Linked DNA regions of Homo sapiens: regions 2 and 3 are each linked to region 1. The links are contacts of gene promoters, found by promoter capture Hi-C in blood cells and fetal thymus (Javierre and others, 2016). All regions are on one chromosome and are shown on one strand. The core of a region is centred on a gene start or on the middle of the fragment in contact, and the rest is flanking DNA. Distances in the headings are between cores, read along the strand shown.

Region 1 (4,582 bases), core at 1,900-4,399:
CTGAGACACTCACTAGCTGGGTGACCTTGGGATGTTACCTTTTAAAGCTTCAATCCTTTAAAATGCAGATGATGATAACAGTGTCTAGTTTGGGGGATGTTGTGAGGATCAAGCAAGATAATGCATGTGCAGTGTTGATTACAGGGGAATTGTCACCACTAGCACCGCTTTCTTCCAGGTCCTCCCCACTGGGGAGCAAGTGCTCTCTCCAAATCAAGAACTCTGGCCTAGCAGTGAGTCAGCAGCACTCAGAGTCCCATGGAGCCTGCCTTTCCAGAGGCCCAGGAAACTCGCATGGGCTGGGAAGCAGGATGCCAGGGTTTCTGCTCTGCACTTGCCCCCTTCTGACTCACTGGTGGCCCAGGGCTAATCAGTCTCCAAGCCTCAGTTTGCTCATGGTCAATAGACAGTCAATAAAAGCAGGCTTGTCTGTCTGAACTCTACTTCCTTAGGACTATGTTCCTGGCATTTGACAACCTGACATCCAGAGAGCAGGTGGGGGAGACCTGAGCAGGAGGAGGGGACAATATGGAGGAATCCTGCATGACAGTGCTGTCTCATTGACATCTCATATGATTCTGACAATAATGGGGCATAAAATCCAGTGTCTACCTTGGCTTATAACGTCCTCTTTTATCTGTTGCTAGCCTTTGTTCCAATATCATCCCATATCTCTCCTTTTTTGGCCCTCTTGCTTTTCCTTGAATGCTCCCAACTTTTTTCCATTTCAGAGTCTTTGCACTATTTGCACATCTTGGAATGCTTTTGTCATAGATGATCCCAAATCTGATTTCTTCTTCTCATTCAGGCCTCAGCTTACATGTCACCTGCTCAGAGAAGGCTTTGCTAATCAGTTTAAAGTGTCATCCTGGGCACTGGAACATATTATCCTACAGCACATCATTGTATTTTAACTTTCATCTTAGCAGTTATCACTATAGGATATGTTTTTCCTTGTTTATTTCCTTAATGTGCTGCCTGTCTACTATAGAATATAAGCTCTGTGAAAGCAGGTCCTGGGCTGTCTTATTTATTTCTATGTCCCCAGTGCCCCCCAAAAATGTTCAGTTAATGTTTATGATATAATTGAGTTAATGAGATTGCCTCAGCATGAATTGTGATTCCTTTTCTTTGCTCAGAGACATCCAAGATTCTGAGAGGGGAAGTGACTGTCCCAAATCCAATTCAAGCTTTTTATCTTCTTTTTTCAGGCCCTTCCTGTAAAACCTGGCTGACACACAAACCTAGCTGGGGTGAGGCTCCAGGTGTGATGAAAGTTTGGAGTTGCCCCATGAATGGGACTGAGGCTGATGTGGGGGTGAGAAGGCGGAAGGACAGAGCATGTGAAGGGAGAAAGGCAGGCTGGGGCAAGAGAGCAGGGTGTGACTCTGGCGAGGGTGGGGGAAAGGGGGTGATTTGACCATGTGTCAGGAAGTGTTTCTCTCCACCCTCCCCTGGGGAGAGCCTTGACCCCAAGGTGGCTTTGTTTTGGGGAAGCAGGTGGCCAGGCAGCTGCTGAGGGAGGGCAAAGTCATGGCTTGGGCGGTGACCATGCACTGAGGTCCTAGGCCCGATACTCATCACCCAAAAGGATAATCTAACAGTGGCTCTTAGCCAAATAGGTGACAGGTGAGCTTCTGTCTGAAACCAGCCCAACTATATCATAAAGCCTCAGATATGGCCTAGGGGAAGGCAAGCGATCTAGAGAAGTGAGAGAAAAGAGGCCTCTAAGGAAATAGAGTGGTCAAGTGCTTAGTGATTATTATTAACAGCAACAATAATAATGGGTCACATTTATTGAGAGCTTATAGTGTGCCTGGCACTATACTAACTACTTTTATGTGTTCCCGCATTCATTTCTCAAAAAGCTCCCTACAAAGTAGTCATTATTATTATTGTTATTATTTTTTCCATTTGAGAGACGTCAAAACTGAGGCTCAGTGAAATTAAGTTTCTTGTCCAAGGTCACACAGTAAGTAGCAAAGGCAGGATTCAAACTCAGGTCTGTAGTGATTCCAGTGCACTATGGAAACCTAGGCCTAGGTTACTGGAGCAAGTTAAGAGGGCAGGGCCAGACTGACCCCTGCAAAGGTGGGGATAGGGAGGGACAGTGGGATAGACTGTGTATAAATAGCAGGCCTGTTTTTATCCCTACACACAGGCAGAATCCGGCAAGTGCTCTATCTGGCACAATTTCAGGGCTCTGAAAGCCAACCCAGCCCTGTGTCAAACAACTCTCTCCCCAGCACGTCCCTGGAAACTGAAATACCTACTGAGACACTCATTTCTTTGGGTCAGGACAGTGACTCCAGAAGACCCCTGCAAAAGCACATGGGTTGGAAGAGAAACACCTAGTGTCTGTGAAACAGCAATCTAGGTTAGCCAGCTGGGTCCTATGGGAGGGTGGCTCATTTTTTATGTTGAGGAAAAAGGTGGCAGTCAAAGGCAAGGAAAAGAATAAGGCTTGTTTCACAACCTGTGTCTCTCCAATCTCAGAAGCCTGGGAATTACAACCCATAGTTCAAAAATCCTAATGTCCCCTGAGGGAAGATGGGAGGAAGCCACTCCAGAGACTAAGAGAGTACTAACTTCCTTTGCTTTTGCTGGATTGATACTAAGTGCCTGCAACTTCAACTCTGGTTATCTCGGGTTTATGAGAACGGCTGGCATTCACGTGTCTAATTTTTAAATGATAGATGAATTAATTATTATTTGATACTTGCCGTGTTGGTAGGCCAAAAGGTGGGCTTCTGAAACTTAGAGGGTGACAGGGATGGAGACCCCTGGTATGGGGCTTAGATGAAGCAAGAGGCCAGGCCCGGAACAGAACTCAGCTCAGCAGTCAGTCACAAGGCTGCAGAGTGACAGGCGTTTGGGGAAAGGTAGGAACCGCTCTCCGCCACCTGCCGGTCAGTAGCCCTACCCACAATCAGGCCGCGGCTGCCTCGGCCTGGTCCCAAAAATTGTGAACGCCGCCCTCTCCTCCCGCCCAGTCCTCCGCCGCGCCCGCGGGGTCGGGGGCTGCGCTGCCGGCGCCGCGAGCCGGGCGAGCTTCCCAGCACGGGAGGAGGGAGGGGGCGGCGCCGGGCGGGGCGGAGCTTCCGCGCCTCCTGGAGCCTTATTCCCGGCCGCGAGCCGGGCAGCGCTCATTCGGCCGAAGGAGCTACGCGGGCCACGCTGCTGGCTGGCCTGACCTAGGCGCGCGGGGTCGGGCGGCCGCGCGGGCGGGCTGAGTGAGCAAGACAAGACACTCAAGAAGAGCGAGCTGCGCCTGGGTCCCGGCCAGGCTTGCACGCAGAGGCGGGCGGCAGACGGTGCCCGGCGGAATCTCCTGAGCTCCGCCGCCCAGCTCTGGTGCCAGCGCCCAGTGGCCGCCGCTTCGAAAGTGACTGGTGCCTCGCCGCCTCCTCTCGGTGCGGGACCATGAAGCTGCTGCCGTCGGTGGTGCTGAAGCTCTTTCTGGCTGCAGGTAAGAGGGCTGCCGACGCCCCCGGAGATCGGGGGGATGGGGGCGTTGTGCTGGGGGCATGGGGGAAGGTCGCCGCAGCGCACCCGGCACGGGCCACTTGGTGGGGCCCTTGCGCTCTGGCGGACGGGCGTCGGCATCGGTGCGTGTTGGTCAGGGGTCTGGGCGGGTGTCTGATGCGGCCTGGCCTCTCGCCCGCAGTTCTCTCGGCACTGGTGACTGGCGAGAGCCTGGAGCGGCTTCGGAGAGGGCTAGCTGCTGGAACCAGCAACCCGGACCCTCCCACTGTATCCACGGACCAGCTGCTACCCCTAGGAGGCGGCCGGGACCGGAAAGTCCGTGACTTGCAAGAGGCAGATCTGGACCTTTTGAGAGGTGGGTGTGGAGGCCCCCCATCCTTGGACCTTGGTGGGCTGTTGAAGAATAAGCAGATCCAAGATTCTTGCTGTTTGGGCAATACTGTGGGTTGAGGGTATTCATGGAGAACCTCGGGGAAAAGCTGATCGGCCTGATGGGCACTGGGGGATCCTGGAATATAGGTCCCACTCTCTCTCTCTTGTCATTGCCTCACCTGCTGGGTTGCTGCCCTTCTGGGTACTCCGGGGCAAATTGAATCAGACGTGTTGTCTGGGGTTGTTACGTTCTTCTTAGGTAAGCTGGGTGATAGGAACAAGGAATGGTTGAGATGCTTTCCCTAGAGCTACTATGTAAAAATGGGCGCCAGTTCTAATTCCCATATCAAATGACTATTATATATAAAATAGAGGTAACACATGCGGAGATGCCCAGGCACATCTCTAGAAAGTGTGCAGTGTTGGCCTCCTCCATCCACCTGTCTCCAGATTGGGGAAACAGAGGGGAATGAGGAGCTCTTGGCCGCCCTAGATGAGGCTGTGAATGGTGAGCACTGAGCCCCTAGGGGGCTGTATTAAAATGCTGGATATCTGTGAATGCTACCGGAAACCTGCAGCTTACTGAGCACCTTGCATTCCTGAGGAGACTCCAAATGGGGAGGGCTGTGTAGGATCCTCCAACCAGCCTCTTTGGCTGTGGCCAAGTACAGGTACAGGGCAGAGTCCAGAGCCTGCCAGCTCTCCTGCCTCCAAACCTGAGGAG
Region 2 (4,414 bases), core at 1,351-3,850, 130 kb after region 1:
TCAGGGCCATCACTTTATTCCAAAGGGAATAATCTGCCTGGAGAAGATCTTGGAAGAGAATCAAGCAAGCAGAGGGAGCTTAGGGTCCTGAGTCCAGCTAGGCCAGGGAGAGTGGGCCTAGTAGCCACAGGATACACCTTTTTCACAGAGGCTTCAAATCTGCAGCCCCAGGACATCTTGCCCACAGCCCTGGGGAGTTCATGGTTACCCACTAGCTGCCTGAGGTACTTGGAAAGGGCTTTTTTGGAGGCTCAGGAGGAGGAGAGAGAAATATTAATCCTTCACAAACAAATTACCCATGATATACATTCTCTCCAAAAGCAAAAAGTCACTTTTACCCATTAAGAACTCACAATATAATCTTGCGCTGTCTCTGTCTCTAAAATTCTCCAGGCTGAAAAGGTATCCCAGGCTAGCAAATGGACTCATTTCAAGGGTAAATGGAAAAGCTCAGAGGAAACCAAGGCGCTACTTAAAAAAGAAAGAAAAAAGCCTAATGGAGATTTTTTTTTCCCTAAGGAAAATGCAATTGAAAATCATCAAAATCTTTTCTAAGCTGTTCCCAAGTTATAGTCTTTAAGCAAGTGTGTTCCTGGAGAAAGGGCCTGATGACTAGAACCTCAAGAGAAAGCTCAGGTACAACCCCCAGAACGAGAATGCGTATGCTCTTTGTGTGTGTGTGTGTGTCATAGAGGGAGAGGGCTCTACTTCCTCCCCTTACTTCAGAAAGCCCTGAGGATGGGTCAGGGCAACCTTAGGAGTATGCTACCTTTTCCAATCAGGATCCCAGCCTGGCTACACAAGGCACCCTTGATCAAATGAGGAAAAGGCCACTGAGCCCAGCAGGGAGAGAAAAGGAAGGGAGCAGTATTAGCCTCTCGAGACCAAAAGCATTGCAGCCCTGATAGCATACAGGCAGCAAGCTTCCTGGTACAAGCTGATAAGATTTTCCAAGGGAGTTGATAGGAAAGTAAATATTTCCTGGAGAAGGAACCCACTCCCTCAGAGAGCCAGGGTAAGCCTGGAACAGCAGAAAACCAGGGCAGGTTACTCAAACACTGCGATGATCTGCTCAATGGGTCTGTCTCCACGGACCCCCATCCCCTGCCAAACTGCCAGTTCAGCTCACAGGGGAGAAGCTGGGTCCTCTTCAGCTCTGTATCCCCAAAGGTCTAGCTCTTACAGATACAGGTTCACTGGATTCAGAGAGTATGCGTAACATACCTGGCTTAATCAATTTATGTAAAATTTAAGTCCCTTAACCTCTCTGTGGGTAAAAAACCCAGCATGACATCAACTGTGTGATACTAACATTTGAAATGGAGACATCGGTGAAAGCTGATAATCACTCCTTAAGACTTGCATATTCTAAGAGACTGAGATACAGCTGAGGATATACAGACTATATAAAGTTACACAAACTTTTTTTTTTTGAGACAGGGTCTCATTTTGTTACCCAAGCTGGAGTGCAGTGGAGTGATCTCAGCTCACTGCAGCCTTGACCTCCTGGGCTCAAGTGATTCTCTGGCCTCAGTCTCCCAAATATCTGGGACTACAGGCACGTGCCACCATGCCCAGATAATTTTTTGTATTTTTTGTAGGGACAGGGTTTTCCTACATTGCCCAGGCTAGTCTCAAACTCCTGGGCTCAAGTGATCCACCCACCTTGACCTCCCAAAGTGTTGGGATTACAGGTGTGAGTCATTGTGCCCCGCCTATACAGACTTTTTAAAGTTAAAAATATACACACACAAAACAACACACTCAACAACACTATTTTTTTTATTTCCCACCCTACACCAACATACTAACAACACTTTTATGTAGCATTATATTAGCTGCAAATACATCCTCTGGACAGAGACTAACACACAAGATGAATTTCAAAAAGGGCTATATCACAACATTTATACCAAAATGTTAACTGCTATCTCTGGGCAGCAGTTATGCATTAATAATGCAAAGTAAATAATATGCAAATAAATTATGCATATTATTTACTTTGTCAAAGGAAAAGTATTTCTGTAATTTAAAAAGTGATTTTCTAAAAAGTGGCCAGGTTTCTCTGTGTGAGAGCCAGGGTATAACCCAGGAACAGGAACTGCAGCCTATTATCAGGGCTGAACTAAGTAGGGGTTTGGAAGAAACCAGCTCTTCTGGACCACTGATCGCTCTGGACTTGGTCCTCACACTTGTGTTACTGTCTGCTGTGCTAAGTTCTCATCCAGTGATAAAGATACCAATCCTTGCTATCTTCATTTTCAGCATTTTAATTATAATAATTCTATGTCATGTCCTGATTTTTAGAGCATCTCAACTCTGTGGCTCCAAGGAGCCACAATATAAGCAGAATATAATTGATTTTTTAAAAGGCACCAAATTCTACTAGTATAGACAGTTCTCCTGAGAGTGACTTCCATGAAAATCTATGAGAATCTTTAGAGAATGAAAAAAAGCTGTCAGTTTTCAAGACGTTCCTTCTCAAGTTTCCCCTGTGGCTAACCACACTGACCACTGGGAAGATTGCACTAGGTGCCTACGGGCACTGTGCCACACAGGCAGCTGGTGTGGTAAGAGACATACCACCCTATGCACAGGCCCTGGAGCCTGGGCCCTTTCTGTACAGGAATGGCTCATTACTACTGGGAAGAATATATCCTAGGGGAAGATCCGTGTCACCTCGGATGGTCCCCACACCAATGACCTACAGCACTGGACTTGCTCTGCAGAGTGCAGCTGACATAGGGAGGTCCCGACAATGCCTGGTTAGCTCCAATCCTTCTAAGACTGCCCTACTCTATCCCACCTGTGCCTTCCAATTTCCCTTACTACCCAAAGTAGTCTTCTTTTCCTTGCCCACAAAACCAATGTCCTCATTGTTTATAACAAGCTAACTGAAGAAAGCTATGCAAGAGATAATAGGCATATGTGTGTCATGTTTTTTAAGACTGGGTAAAAGTAGTATCAAAGCAGAAAACCAGGCTGCTCCTGGGTGAAAGGGGCCTAAGAACAATGAAGCAAGGCCATCTGGTCTGGAAGCAGCAGACTTCAAAATACCTTGTTTCCCCAGGCCAGCCAGGTCTGGCCAACCCAGCCTGCTCTCAGCCCTCAAGCACAGATCACATCCCATCAGCCAGCTGAATAAATTGGATCTGCAAAGAGCAGTTGTCTTTCCTCACTCCATTACCTCTGAGTGCTAGGCAAACCGAGGCTTTTAAAAAGGCAAAATAGAATGTTCTACATAAAGTACCTGACCAAAACAGATTGTCTCTATCCCCAAGAAGATGGAAAAATCCAAGGGCATCTTTGAGTCTACAGTCCCTTAGTGTCATGACCACACTGTCATCACATGACACTCAGATCCACTGCTGGTGCAGTCATTAGGGAGACCATCATTGAAGTGCTGGACCTGACTGAGTAGGTCTGTCAAGTTAAGGACCTAAGTCAGAAGGAATGAGAGCCTAAGATGGTGCTGAGTCCCCAGTACACTCACTAAAAACCATTCTCATCTGCTTTTGTGAAGAGAGTTGCAATTGAGTACCACCAGAGAAAAACCATCTTACCCGCAGACTCCTCCTCCTTTACCACTGCTAACACATTGTGCTATAGTTAAGTTTGAAGTATTTTAAGGATATTCCCTGACAAAATACAAAACAGTACAATACAGTCATGCATCTCTCAATGATGGAGATATGTTCTGAGAAATGCATTGTTAGGCATTTTTGTCATTGTGTGAACATCATAGTGTACTTACACAAACCTAGGTGGTATAGCCTACTGTACACCTAGGATATATACTATCACCTATTGCTCCTAGGCTACAAATGCGTACAGCATGTTGCTATATTGAATACTGTAGGCAATTTTAAACAATGGTAAGCATCTATGTGTCTAAACATAGAAAAGGTACAGTAAAAATGTGGTATAAAAGATAAAAACTGGTATACATATATAGAGCACTTACCATGAATGGAGCCTACAGGCCTGGAAGTTGCTCTAGATGAGTCAGTAAGTGAGTGAATGTGAAAGCCTAGGACATTACAATACCCTACTGCAGACTTCATATATACTGAACACTTACACTATCTGCCATACACTTAGGCTATACTAAATTTATAAAACAAATTTCTTTCTTCAATAACTAACCTTAGCTTACTGTAACTTTGAAAAAAATTTTAAACTTTTTGACTCTTTACCAACACTTTGCTTAAAACATAAATATATTATACAGCTAAACAAAACTGTTTTTTCTTTATACCCTTATTCTATAAGCTTTTTCTATTTTTAAAATTTATTTATTTTTTACTTTTTAAACATTTTTGTTAAAAACTGAGACACAAACCCACACATTAGCCTACGTCTACAGAAGGTCAGTATCATTAACATTACTGTCTTCCACTTCCACATCTTGTCC
Region 3 (4,281 bases), core at 1,035-3,534, 210 kb before region 1:
AGAGGTGGCCCCTTTAGGGGTCAGGAAGGCTACCTGTAAGAGGTGATAGAAATCCGACAGTCCAAGAGGGAAGTTAGCCAGGTGAAGGGGAGTGGGGCAGGTGTACCAAGCACAGGGAACCTTAGCTGTGAAGGTGAGAGATATTAGTGGATGAGAGTATCTGAAAGAATCTAGTGTATCTGGCATGCAAGGGGGACGTAGTGAGAGGTGAGATCAGAGAGAATGACAGAAGCCAGGTTTGGGGGACCTCATAGGTCAGGGTGATGAGTTTATCTGGAGGCACTAGGAAGCACTGGAGCCCGAGAGTGAAGTCAGGGTTATGGATTAGGATGACCACTTAAGCTATAGTATGGGTAAAAGATTTGGAGGACGTAATAGGAGGTAGGAAGGCCAATTAGGACACCTTTGAGCTGTTCAGATGAGATGACTGGGAGCAGTTGCATTGGGGCTGGAGTTTGAGTTGTACACCTTTACCCTTGACTAGGGAATCTGCTTTGCCAGGGACTAGTCCCCACCAGTGAGAGATGGAAAAGAGGCAACATAGTGGTACATGTAATTAAGAGTTTAGGCTCTGCAATCAGAGAGAACTAGGTTTGAATGCCATTTCTGCCTTTCTCTGGCTGTGTGACCTTGGGCAAGTCATATACTCTCTGAATCTCAATTTCCTCTTTTGCAAAACAGGGATAATAACCCCTCATAAATAACTGAATTATACAAAGCACTTAGCAGTGTCCAGCCTGCCCTCCTTAAGTGTCTGATACATGTTTTATGATTTTGTTATTGAGCTACCTGGGAATGCTCTAGAAACTCCACATGTGGCTGACTACCAACCTTGTTATCAGACAGAAGCTTTGGCCAGTTCCCTGTCCTGCAGAAGCTTTCAGGGAGTCTAGAGGCAGAAAGTAGCTGGATCCTCACATTCCCCTTCTCCCTAGGTTCAGTACCAGAAGTGTCTTGTGGCCTCTGCAGCTCGAGGCAAGGCCTGGGGTGCCCAGGCCCGTGCCCGCCTGCGGCTCAAGCGGACCAGCTCCATGGATTCCCCAGGAGGTCCCCTGCCCCTCCCCCTGCTCAAAGGAGGGGTTGGCGGTGCAGGGGCAACCCCTCGAAAGCGGGGTGTCTTCTCTTTTCTTGATGCCTTCCGGCTGAAACCCTCTCTGCTCCATATGCCCTAAACTTATCTGGGAAGGCTGGGGAAGTAGGCTCTGGGTCCATGCCTAACTCTGTACCGTTTTATTCCTCAAGGCCTATAGCCTGTCACTCCTTGAAGCCTTCTCTGCCTGTCCCTCCGATCCTTGTCCACCGTCTATTTATTGCCCAATTTATTGTTTATACGGATGACTGGGAGGCACTGCACCACAACGTAGGACCCTGGCTCCCCTTTCCTTGGGTCCTTGTGTTCCTTGCCCCTGTCCAACCCTGGACAGTTGGCTCTACCTCAGTAACACTTTATAGCAAAATCAGTGCAAATAAAAATCCCTCAGTGACCTCACTGGATGTGAGTATATTGGGCCTGGGACAGGGCTGGGGGCTAACACCCTGTGTGAGATGAGTGTCTTTGTGTCTGTGCTTGATGTTGGTGGCTCTCTGTAGTCACATGACAGCATGGGTGTGATGGAGATCTGACTTCATTCAACAAACATATTTTCTAAGGAGTTCCCTGTGCCAGGCACTAAGCTGGGCACTGGGAATGTAATAAAATAGTCAAGGTCCCACCTTCTAAGACTGTCCGACAGGGAAACGAACAAGAGTCAAATAAGGCAGAAGATGTGATGTAATACACCTACGAAATCTCAGAGGGTTGTAGGGTCGTGGGAGCTCAAGTGAGACACTTAACCTGGCCTGAGACATTCCAGAAGGCCTCCTGAAGAACTGACATCTGAACTGAGAACTGAAGGAAGATGAGTACTAGTGAGGCTACCGGACGTGAATGTGGAGATTGTGCAGGGCAATGCAAGAGGAGGCTGTAGAAGTCAACCTGGCTAGATCACAGCGGGGTGTATGTGGGGCAGGAGCTTCTTTGTTTGAATTTGCTCCTGAGAGGATGAGGCCTCCTAGAGCACTGGCTCCTGGACAGCAACCTCCTTTGGTGCCTTGTGACCAGGGCCCTGATGGTTCATTAGATGGAGCCTTCGAGTCTTAGGGAGTTGCCGCAGGGTCCCCACAGCGGCTCCCGACGGTTGTGAACCAGCATCCATCCTCCACGGATTCCGGCAACCCGCCTGGCCCTGGACGTGTCTCAACTGGCCCGCGTGAGGGGCCGCCCCGGAAATGACGCGCTGCCCCGCTGGCCAAGCGGAAGTGGAGATGGCGGAGCTGTACGTGAAGCCGGGTGAGCGCAGCCGGCGGGCTAGGGCACTAGGTTGTCGCCCCGGCCTAGGCTGGGGGCGGTTGCGGCGCTTAGTATGGACCCTCTGTCTCCCCCAGCCCCAGTATAAGCTAACAGTGGAGTTCCGGGCTCGCTTCACACATCCCTCGCCTCCGCAGGCAACAAGGAACGCGGCTGGAACGACCCGCCGCAGTTCTCATACGGGCTGCAGACCCAGGCCGGCGGACCCAGGCGCTCGCTGCTTACCAAGAGGGTCGCCGCACCCCAGGATGGATCCCCCAGAGGTGCGTGGGGCCCCTGTGCTCGGAGACAGACGGAGAATGGGGGGGGGGGGGTGTAAGGCATAAGCCTGTTTGGAAGGCTTTTTTCTCTCCCCGAGGGCTCCTTAAGGAGAGAAGTTTTGGGGCTCCAGTAAGGGTCTCAGAGCAGGTGCTTTTCCGAGCCCCTTCTCTGCTGCTCAGGTTAATAAATGGTGTATTGATTTAAAAAGACTATTTTTTCATCCTAGATGATCTTATCCAGACCTGTGGCTTTTAATATAGTTTTAATCCTGAAGTTATTTTTCTTTGTTAACCTATACCTCTTGCCAGAACCGTATAGTGGCATATTCATTTGTCCATTCTGTCTTCACTTAGGTATATGATAATCGTCAGACTTCACAGTTTTTCATTCATTTAATCACTGTTATTTACTGAGCACTTCTATAAGTCAGGCACTGTTTGAGGGCGAACTAGACAGCAGTGAGAAAAAAAAAAAAAAGATCTCTGCTTTCAGGAAGTCCACGTTGCAGCACTGGAGATGGGCTGAAAGATGAAATAGTGGTGAGGGTGCTACAGAAAATAAGCGGTGATGTAATATGACTGGGTAACGAGGTGTCTGAGGGGCTGACATTTAAGCCACACAAAGATCATGTACAAAAGCATTCCAAGCAAAAGAAACAGCTGCAAAAGGAATAAGTTTGGCCAATTCAGAGACTGATGAAATACAGAGTGGCTGGCTACAGCATAGTGGGCTTTGTAAAGCAGGATGAGGAATTTGTATTTTAATCTACATAAAGTTAGAAGCCATTGAAAAGTTTAAAGTAGAGGAGAGCCACCTTTCCCCCCGAGAATTTTCCAAGCCATTAAATGGGCTGTGCCGTGGCCCCCATAAAGGGGCTCAGGTTTGGTTCTTTCAGTGGCCCTCCATTCTCCACACCCTTTTTGCTGTAGAAGAATGATACAAGGCTTGGTTTCTTAAACTCAGCAGTATTGATAGGTTGTGGCCAGATAATTCTTTGTGAGGGACTTTCCTGTGTCTTATGTTAATCAGCAACTCTGACTTCTACCCAAAAGATGTCAGTAGCATCCACCCAGTTGTGATAGCCAAAAGTGTTTCCAGACATTTGCCCTGTGGGCACTATCTTCCTAGCTTGAGAACCAGGGACTGATTTACATTTTGGAAAGATCACTGTGTCTGCTGTGTGAAAACAAGATTTTAGGGAAGTGGAAAGACAAATTACAGCTATTATGGTAATATAGGCAAGATTTAATGATTTGCATAAGGGTGGGAGTCAGGGTGGTAGGAGTTGGATGGATATGAGATGGAGAAGGTCAGTAGGAATGAGTAGATTAGGAAGAATCCATATAACTGAATTTTTTTGCTTGATATAGGAAGACTGGGGATGGTGGTTTTGGGGAGGGGGAGTTTTTTTGGGGGGCCATGTGAAGTTTAGGCTGTTACTTTTGGGGAATGTTCTAGGCCAGAATTAGAGAAATAAGTCACCATTACAAGGATGGTATTTGATGTCATGGGCTTGAATATGGCCAGGGACAGAGCCGTAGGGCACTCTAGCATTTCAAGGTTGAGAAGGAATCAGCAAAGGAGATTGGGAAATGGCCAAAGAAGAAAAAAGGAGAGGCCAGGCGCAGTGAGTCACGGCTGTAATCCCAGCACATGGGGAGGCCAAGGTGGGC

Evidence for each region. The method cuts DNA at HindIII sites, captures the fragments that hold promoters and counts their contacts. A CHiCAGO score of 5 or more calls a contact.
Region 2: a fragment that was not itself captured here is called in contact with the fragment with the promoter of HBEGF in region 1 in 1 of 17 cell types (endothelial precursors); the score reaches 5.1 in endothelial precursors.
Region 3: a contact is called between the fragment with the promoter of SRA1 here and the fragment with the promoter of HBEGF in region 1, in 1 of 17 cell types (activated CD4 T cells). The highest score is 6.1, in activated CD4 T cells.

What each region holds. Positions count from the first base shown.
Region 1 is chr5:140,345,170-140,349,751 of GRCh38, reverse strand. HBEGF (heparin binding EGF like growth factor) reads left to right here and starts at 3,149. Exons shown (of 6, transcript NM_001945.3): 1 at 3,149-3,469; 2 at 3,668-3,841. The coding sequence starts at 3,424. RefSeq lists silencers at 2,865-2,914, 2,955-3,234. The HindIII fragment of the contact is 6,957 bases long and covers 1,193-4,582 here.
Region 2 is chr5:140,213,161-140,217,574 of GRCh38, reverse strand. The region is part of intron 2 of CYSTM1 (cysteine rich transmembrane module containing 1); the gene reads right to left. Among named protein-coding and RNA genes, the nearest start is that of CYSTM1, 40 kb to the right of the region's middle. The HindIII fragment of the contact is 3,349 bases long and covers 926-4,274 here.
Region 3 is chr5:140,555,476-140,559,756 of GRCh38, reverse strand. It overlaps SRA1 (steroid receptor RNA activator 1), which reads left to right and starts at 2,284. Exons shown (of 5, transcript NM_001035235.4): 1 at 2,284-2,329; 2 at 2,485-2,610. The coding sequence starts at 2,305. APBB3 (amyloid beta precursor protein binding family B member 3) reads left to right here. Exons shown (of 13, transcript NM_133173.3): 13 at 936-1,489. The coding sequence ends at 1,172. RefSeq lists enhancers at 1,855-1,914, 2,005-2,364, 2,230-3,051 and a silencer at 3,575-3,724. The HindIII fragment of the contact is 6,646 bases long and covers 880-4,281 here.